3 separate regions of the Homo sapiens genome follow, and all the other regions are linked to region 3. The links are contacts of gene promoters, found by promoter capture Hi-C in human tissues and cell types (Jung and others, 2019). All regions are on one chromosome and are shown on one strand. The core of a region is centred on a gene start or on the middle of the fragment in contact, and the rest is flanking DNA. Distances in the headings are between cores, read along the strand shown.

The links. The method cuts DNA at HindIII sites, captures the fragments that hold promoters and counts their contacts. A contact is called where the count stands out against the background at its distance.
Region 1: the fragment with the promoter of FTCD here is called in contact with the fragment with the promoter of COL6A2 in region 3 in 4 of the 25 tissues and cell types used here (heart left ventricle, heart right ventricle, mesenchymal stem cells and 1 more).
Region 2: a contact is called between a fragment that was not itself captured here and the fragment with the promoter of COL6A2 in region 3, in 6 of the 25 tissues and cell types used here (IMR-90 fibroblasts, aorta, heart left ventricle and 3 more).

Annotation. Positions count from the first base shown.
Region 1 is chr21:46,154,268-46,157,137 of GRCh38, forward strand. It overlaps FTCD (formimidoyltransferase cyclodeaminase), which reads right to left and starts at 1,312. Exons shown (of 14, transcript NM_206965.2): 1 at 1,203-1,312; 2 at 1-65. The coding sequence starts at 1,256. RefSeq lists enhancers at 1-381, 382-1,085. The HindIII fragment of the contact is 26,017 bases long and covers 1-2,870 here.
Region 2 is chr21:46,048,639-46,051,393 of GRCh38, forward strand. No RefSeq gene overlaps it. Among named protein-coding and RNA genes, the nearest start is that of COL6A2-DT, 48 kb to the right of the region's middle. RefSeq lists enhancers at 675-1,385, 1,386-2,096. The HindIII fragment of the contact is 3,563 bases long and covers 1-2,755 here.
Region 3 is chr21:46,096,803-46,099,502 of GRCh38, forward strand. It overlaps COL6A2 (collagen type VI alpha 2 chain), which reads left to right and starts at 1,310. Exons shown (of 28, transcript NM_001849.4): 1 at 1,310-1,371. COL6A2-DT (COL6A2 divergent transcript) reads right to left here and starts at 843. Exons shown (of 2, transcript NR_186433.1): 1 at 670-843. RefSeq lists an enhancer at 1,133-1,427. The HindIII fragment of the contact is 26,496 bases long and covers 1-2,700 here.

The DNA.
Region 1 (2,870 bases), core at 62-2,561, 57 kb after region 3:
GCGTCCACATCCAGCAGCACGCAGCCCGGGGTCTGTGTGATGGCTCCAGAGATGGCGTCGATCACCTGGGACACAGGCCCGGCCCCCACACCTCAGTCTCCCCGTTTGAAAGAAGGAAAAGGAGCTTGGAGGTGGCTGCACCCCGAGACACAAATGGGGGCTGAGGAGGCGGGCCAAGCCTTTGGGGGCTCTCCGACAAGCTGAGCTCCCACCGAAAGTGCCCGCACACAGCGGCCGCCCGGGAACCCTCACAGCAGCCACAGTCACTCCAGCCCAAGCACAGTCCCCACAAGGGGCTGCAGGTGGTGCCTCCAGGAGAGACTCACGGGCTCTGCTCCGACAGACAGATGCCAGAGACGTGGCCGGGGATCCAAGAAGGTGACCACAGGCGCAGGTCACAGAGGGGCCGGGACCCCCACCCCCGAGCAGGGGAGGGACAGATCACCAGCATGGGGGAGGGGCCTGAAGGGCCTAGAACCTTCCGGGTGGCAGGACTGCTGGGAGCAGGGGCTCAGCCCCAAATCTTGCCCTGTCCCAGGGCCTTGGTGCTGGCTGGAATCCCGGCATGACGAGGCCTCCCTGCACCCCTGCGGGTGACCCCTGTGGCCTGGTGCTGCGCTCTGGGAGGCCTTCCAGGTGGCCCTTAGGGCCTGCGTTTGTTCCCGGAGGAGCCTGGACCTCAGGGCTGTGGAAGGCGAGAGGCCGGACCTGGGGGCCTGCTGCCCCCTCTGTGCCTACTTCGTTTTGGGTCCAGTGAGGATGGTGGCTGCAGGGTGGGGGCTCAGCAAGCTAACTCCAGTGGAGATGGAGAGGCGGCAGTGGGGACCATGCTGGGCCACCTCGTGTGGCCTCACACAGCCCTTTCAGTCAGTGGCAGGAGCCCCATTTTCAGGGGGGAGCACCAAGGCCCTTTGAGGCCCAGAGATCTGCCCAACCCCCCACCGAAAGCACCCGAAAGGCCCCTGAAGCCACAGCCAAGCCTCAGCCCCCACAAGCACCAGTCGTGTTCCACCCACCCCTGGGTCAGGCACTCCCCAGGGCCCTGAGCCACGGGATGTCCTTGGGGCCCACGGGCAGCGGCTCTGCCCATCCTGGGAAGACGACCCGGGACACCAAGCCCACCACCTCCTCCATGGCCTGGGCCTTAGCCACTCAAGCTGCCCCATCAGCCCTAGATGCTTGACCAGCTCCTCGGGCCTCACCTCCTGGTTCTTCCCCTCCGAAAAGTTGGGGACGCATTCCACCAGCTGGGACATGGCCAGCACCTTGATCCAGATGCTCCTCTCTGGGCAGATGGAAGGACAGGGCCAGTGCTCCGCAGCCGCCGCCAGGGCCTTTATACGCTCACCGGCAGCACCTCCCCACCGGCTTCTCATTAACCAGCAAGGCACAAGGAGCAGTGGGGCCAAGGTCCCTGTGCAGCCGCGGAGTGGGGTGCTGCAGAGCCACCCCGGGTGCTGTTGACCCAGAGGGGATGGCTCCACTCAGCCAGAGTGTGGGTTCCCGGAAAAGAAGCACATGCCAGGGTGAAGGGGCATGTGCCGAGGACCCCCAGGAGCATCAGGCCAGCCTGGCTGGAATCCTGTCGTGACGAGGCCTCCCTGTGCCACTGCGGGTGACCCTCGTGACCCTGTGCTGCCTTCTGGGAGGCCTTCCAGGCAGCCCGTGGGGCCTGCGTTTGTTCCTGGAGGAGCCTGGACCCCTGGGGCTGTGGAGGGCGAGAGGCCAGCATGAGGCCCTGGCTCGCAGCACCCAACTGAGGTCAGCTCAGCTCAGACAGGAGAGTGCAGGGGAGCACGCGTGTGAGAGTGAGTGAGGATACACGTGAGGGCAGGGCAGGGGAACACGTGAGAGTGCAGATACACGTGAGCACAAGGCAGGGGAGCACATGTGTGAGAGCGTGGATACATGTGAGCACAGGACAGGGGAACACGTGTGAGAGTGAGCGAGGATACATGTGAGTGTGGGGTAGGGGAGCACACGTGTGAGAGTGCAGGTACACGTGAGCATGGGGCAGGGGAAGCAAGCATGTGAGAGTGAGTGCAGATACATGTGAGCGCAGGGCAGGGGAACACGCGTGTGAGAGTGCAGATACACACGAGACGGGCATGTGCGATATGGGGGAAGGCAGCTGAGACCCCAGCTCTCCCCAGCTGCTGCTCCCCTGACTACAGGCTCCCCACGAAGTCAGCGGCACCAGGGCCGTGCTCAGAAGGGAGAACTCCTGTCTCCACGTTCAGCCGCTGCCCACTTGCAGTGCTTTTATCATTTTCTCTTTTTTTTTTTTTTGAGACAAAGTCTCACTCTGTCAGCCAGGCTGGAGTGCAGCGGCACAATCATGGCTTCCTGCAGCCTTGGTCCCCAGGCTCAAGAGGTCCTTTCACCTTAGCCTCCTGAGCATCTGGGCCACAGGCACACACCACTACACTGGCTAACTTTTCCATTTTTGGTAGACATGGTGATATGGTTTGGCTGTGTCCCCACCTAAATCTCATCTTGAATTGTAGAGCCCATAGTTCCCACGTCATGGGAGGGACCCGGTGGGAGGTCACTGAATCACGGGGGCGGCTTTTTCCGGTGCTGTTTTTGTGATAGTGAATGGTCTCACGAGATCCGATGGTTTTATAAAGGGCAGTTCCCCTGCACACACCCTCTTGTAAGACGTGACTTTGCTCCTCTTTCACCTTCCACCATGATTGTGGAACTGTTGAGTCCATTAAACTGCTTTTTCTTTAAAAATTACCCAGTCTTGCGTATGTCTTTATCAGACAAATACACATGAGGTCTCACCACGTTGCCCAGGCTGGTCTCAAACTCCTGGGCTCAAGCGATCCTCCTGCCTCGGCCTCCCAAAGTGCTGGAATTACAAG
Region 2 (2,755 bases), core at 115-2,614, 48 kb before region 3:
GGGGTGGTGGATGTTACTGATGATATGAGGGGTCTTTTTGGGGTGATGGATGTTACTGATGATATGAGGGGTCTTTTTGGGGTGATGGATGTTACTGATGATATGAAGGGTCTTTTTGGGGTGATGGATGTTACTGATGATATGAGGGGTCTTTTGGGGTGATGGATGTTACTGATGATATGAGGGATCTTTTTGGGGTGATGGATGTTACTGATGATATGAGGGATCTTTTTGGAGTGATGGATGTTCTCTGTCTTGATTGTGTTCATGGTCACACAGTTATATAAATTTGCCAGAACTCATCAAGCTATACACTTTAAGTGGGTGCATCTTCCTGTATGTAAACGGCACCTCCCCAGAGATGATTCTTCAAAGCCCTCCTCCTTTTCTAACCTCCTCCTGGGCTTGCTGTAACTTTGTGGTCCCTGACAGCTGCACCCACCGCCCTCCATGCCCTCTACCCTGCTGACCAACTCCCCGTCCACCTTCTCCCAGTTGGCCCAGCTCAAGGGGCAGCCCCCTGCATCGAAAGCAGTTAGGGCCTCCTCCTCCGGCACCACCTGGGAAAAGGTGACTGTGGCCTCTGGAAAGGCTTCCTGGCTCCGGTTGCCAGGAAGAGGCATTCGCACTGCCTCCCTCCTCTGTCCCAGACAGCCCCAGGGCCTCTCACTAAGCCCAGCTGGCCGAATCCGTGCAAAGCTCCTCTCCAAACCGACTTGAGTAACTTCTCTGGCTGAAAATGGGAAGCAGTTGCATAACCAGACATCTGCGGATCCAATTCCTGAGAAAATGTAGGCAGATGCGCCGGACAGTTAGGAGAGGCCCTGAGAAGATGAAGACACGGGCCGGAGGCCACACTTGGCCTGTCTCCCGTTGGCCTGACACATTTTGCAGCTGCTTATCAGGGGGTTAGGAGAACGCTGAATAGGAGGCTGGGGAGGCCAATTCCACAGCGTATGACACACGCGTACCACTGCTTCCAAGGGAATTCATCAAACCAGTTCTTTGCGTAATCGCCTAATGCTTCCTCCTGGGGGAGGGGATTTGTTTATTGATCTTCTTCCCTTCCTATAGATCTGTTGTTCATAGGCATGAGGTGAACACGCGCATTTTCCAGCCAGGAGAACGTTCCGCTCAGCACGCACACCTGGAGACAGCCCAGCCCTGAGCAGGAAATGCCTGCTGGGCTTGAAGAGGGCTTCCTGGGGTGTGATGGATGATTGGGTTCTTTTTAAAGAATAGGAGGCCCCAGTCAGCTTTCCAAGTCCCACACACAGGAGGTCGGGGGGACAGGCCCCTGGCCAGCTCCCATCCTGCTGTGGTCCCAGCACCCCCAGACCTCCCGGCAGCTGACCCAGACTCTTGGGACCTGGCACCCTCATCCCTGGAGGTCAACACTCCAATGTCCGCTGGGCGTCTGACCTGGAGGACAGGGCTCCAAGGCACAGCCCATGGCTGAGAGTGAAGAAACGGCGCCCTCATGGCGGACCCTCCACCAAGCGGCCAGTGAACGAAGTGTGTTTGTACGGGAGGGCTTCCAGCCGCCGCGACCCCCACCATCGAGAAACCATCCTCTGGGCCCACCGCAGAACTCACTGTGCCCACAGCGGGGCTCTCTGGGGAGGGTCCTCGGAGCACAGTGGCGAGTGGACGGCACCCTGACCATCCCGGGCAGGCTTTCCAAACTCGGCTGGTGGACAGCTTCCCTGCTGGGTCCCTGAAGTGAGGCCAGGTCACCCACAAGCCAGGAGCATTGGCCGCACCCTGGCAGCCCTTGGCATCCTCTCTCATTGGGGCGTCACGTTGTCCCAGGGAGCCAGGCTGGTGACACTGGGGTCTGGAAAGAGGGGCCTAGCCCTGTCACACACACTGTCAGCCCTCCAAGGTGGCACGGGGACGGCGAGGCCGACAGCTGCTTGTGCGGAACTGGGCTGGTCCCATCGGCTCTGGAATCAGACCCCCTGAGGCTTGGAAATAAGATGGACCGGGGTCAGGCGATGCTCAGTTGAAGGCAGACACCGCTCCCCACTTTGCTCCACAAGCACAAGCTCTTCCCAGCCAAGGCACAGCAGGGCAGGGGCCGCCAGGCACAGTGAAGGGGGCCAGGGCCTGCAGTCCCCCATCCAGAGCTGGGCAGGGAGCCATGCAGGCTGCGAGGTGGGGTGGCTGCTGCAGCTCCCAAGGGGTCTGGTGTGGACTAGAGGGCGAGTGGAGAACCTGGGACCTCTGCAGGGCGCACAGCCATTTCCACACACAGCCCACTTCAGACCACTTGCTGCGGTGGTCACTGGTGGTCAGCCCATAGCAAAGCGTCTGGCCCTGTGCCCCCACCCTGCCAGCACCAGGCTGGACAGTCCCCAGCGGCTGCACGGTGGCCTGGGCAGCTGTGATGGGAGAGGCCCCCACAGACGAGGCCCCAAGTCGGCTCCTGGCTCTGCCCTGGACCGGCTCTGGGTTCTCGAGAGGCTGGCCCAGCCCTGCGCTGCTCTGAGCCATGCGGACCCCGTGGGGAGGACCCCATACTGCAGATCCCTCACCGGTAGCCCCCACTCCAGGCCAGACTGAAACACCGCGGTGGGCTCCTGGAGCACCCCCCACGCCCGGGGCTGGCTGGCCTGGGAGGAGGGGACACAAGAACTTGGGACGGCAGTTCTCAAAATGCAGTCTGGGGACCGCAGAGGTTCCTGAGATGCTCTGGGGGGTCTGTGAGGCCAAACTTATTTTGATGATGAAACTGACACATTATCCGTCTTTC
Region 3 (2,700 bases), core at 60-2,559:
TGGGAGCTGCTGGCTTGGAAGCAGGAGGCATTGCCCAGGTGAGAGTTCGGCATGGACCCAGGGGAGTGGCACACGGTGCCCGCCGTCAGCTGTGCTCAGGAGCAGCAGGCAGGAGCCCTGGACTCATGGCTACCATGTGGCTGCCACACTCAGGCACACTTAGGCACATACACTCACACTCAGGCACACTTAGACACACACATTCACACTCAACCTCAGACGCAGACACACACCACACACTCACAGATGCACACAGTCTCAGACACAGACACACACCACACACAGATACACACACCACAGACTCAAACTCAGTCTCAGACACAGACACACACCACACACTCAGATGCACACACCACACACACTCAGTCTCAGACACACACACACACCACATTTGCAAACCTGCTCATCAGAAGAGGGACCTCGCCCCCAGCCGCTCCGCCACCTTCCAGGACAGCTCTGAAGGGAGCCCTGTCCCGGAGCCCAGGGACCTCTCCCCAACCCGGCTGCGCCTCACCTCAAGGAGGAACCCCGGCCCTGGCTGGGGGACTGTGACCAGGGTGGGGAGTGGGGACCCCAGACAGAGCCCTACCAGGGACCCCTGTCACTCTGTCCCCGGCTGGGCTCAGGTGGGGACCTCACGGTGGTCCCAGGGCCCAGCACCAAGCCCACCTGTGGTTTCCAGCGGGAAAGGGGTGGCAGGGGTGGCTCGCCGCATGCCCAGGCTCTGCCCCAACCTCCGCGCCCAGGCTCTGCTGTCCCTGCCCTCCCGGCTCCCCACCCTCAGGCCCCAGGAGCGGCAGTTTCTGCAGGAGCTCCTGACCCGGGGCCTCTCGCGGGAGGCCTGAGCAAGCCGGACACAGGACACGGGGTAGGGGAGGGGTCGGGGGGCTGATGGGGGGAACCCTGCACCCCCCAGGGCAGCTGCTACCAAGGGGCGAGTCCCAGGGCCCCCGTCGGCCCTGCGTGCGGGGCGCGGTCCCCAACACCCAGGGCCCCGGAGGCGGACACAGCCCCAGCCAGGTCGTCCGGGAAATGGGGCGGGGGCGACGGGCGGCCGGGCCCGGGACGCGAAGTCCGAGCAGCAGCGGGCAGGGGCTGGCGGGGGAGCTCGGCCCGGGCTGCAGGGGGGTCCCCACCCTCTCCACCTCCTCCAGCCTCCCGCCCTCGAGGGTCCCCGCTTCCCTCCCATCCCCCTCCCGTGCCCCCGGCCCCCTCCTCCCATCCGCGGGGCCGCAGCGCTTCCTGGCGGCGGGGCGGGTCAGGCCGGCGGGGCGGGGTATAAAGGGGGCGGCGCCGGCCGCGGTTCCCTCCCTGCTGCTTACTCGGCGCCCGCGCCTCGGGCCGTCGGGAGCGGAGCCTCCTCGGGACCAGGTGAGCGCCTCCCGGACCCCGCACCCTGGAAGCCGCTCGGCCCGCGGGGGGTGACCCCGAGTCCTGGGAAGGCGGCGGCGGCGGCTCCGTCCCTCGGGTCCCCGGGAAGGGGGACTCCAGCCCCAGGGACGGCGGGGGGCTCGGCGGGTTCGGGGCTCCTCCTCGCGGGGCTGGGGCCGCGCCTGCCCCTGTGGCTCCGCGTCTCTGGGTCCGACCCTCGGGCGCGCGACTTGGGGCCACCTCCCCGCGGCCTCCTCTGGGGCGGAGCCGGCCTGGGCGGGGTGGGGGGGTCCCTGTCTGCGCCCGAGCTCGGTGCTGGGACCCCCGCTCCCGAGACGACCCCGGCACCGCACGCCCCGCCAGGCCCCGCGTCTGCGAGCGGTTCGGGTCCGGCTCCGGCCCGCGGGGAAGACGCCCCGGCTGGCTGGGACCTCCGGGGGCGCAGGGCCTCTCCCCGGGCCGGACGGAAGGGGCGGCGGGGCGGGGGGAGGAGGGGCTTTCGGTGCCCGAGGGCGGGACTGGGCGGGGAGGGGACGCGGGTGGCCCCGACGCCCCATCGCTGCGCCCCTCCCGGCCTGGAGCCCACCAGGGCCCCGCCAGGCCCAGGAGAAGCTGCAGACGGAGGCGGCTCCCCAGGGCGGCGGGACCCGGGCTGACAGCGACCCGCAGCCCCTGCCGGGCCGCCCACACCCGCCCTGGGACTCCGCCGGGGCGCTGGTGGAACCGCTGGGCCTGGGTCTCCACTGCTGGCAACCGAACGGATCGGCCCTCTGTGGAGCCGCAGGTGTGCGGGCGAGCGGCGCCCATCCGGGCTGTGCCAGCAGAACCCCGGTGCCCGCGCCTAGGACGCCCCTGGAGAAGGGACCTTCCCTTTGGGGTCGGAACCCAGAAAGGAGGGGCCTGCGATCCGCGGAGCTCCTTGTTCTTGGGATAACACAGCTCTGGCTTGGAGGCCCCCTTGCACTTCGACTCTGGTGATTATTTCAAGAAAGGCCAGACCGGGCACGGTGGCTCACGCCTGTAATCCCAACACTTGGGGAGGCCGAGGCGGGCAGATCACCTGAGGTCAGGAGTTCGAGACCAGCCTGGCCAACAGGGTGAAACCCCGTCTCTACTAAAAATACAAAAAAAAATTAGCCGGGCGTGGTGGCAGGCACCTGTAATCCCAGCTAATCGGGAGGCTGAGGCAGGAGAAAATCACTTGAACCTGGGAGGCGGAGGCTGCAGTGAGCTGAGATCGCGCCACTGCACTCCAGCCTGGGTGAGGGAGCGAGACTGTCTCAAAAAAAAAAAAAAAAAAAAAAAAAAAGGAAAGAAAGGCCCGGTGAG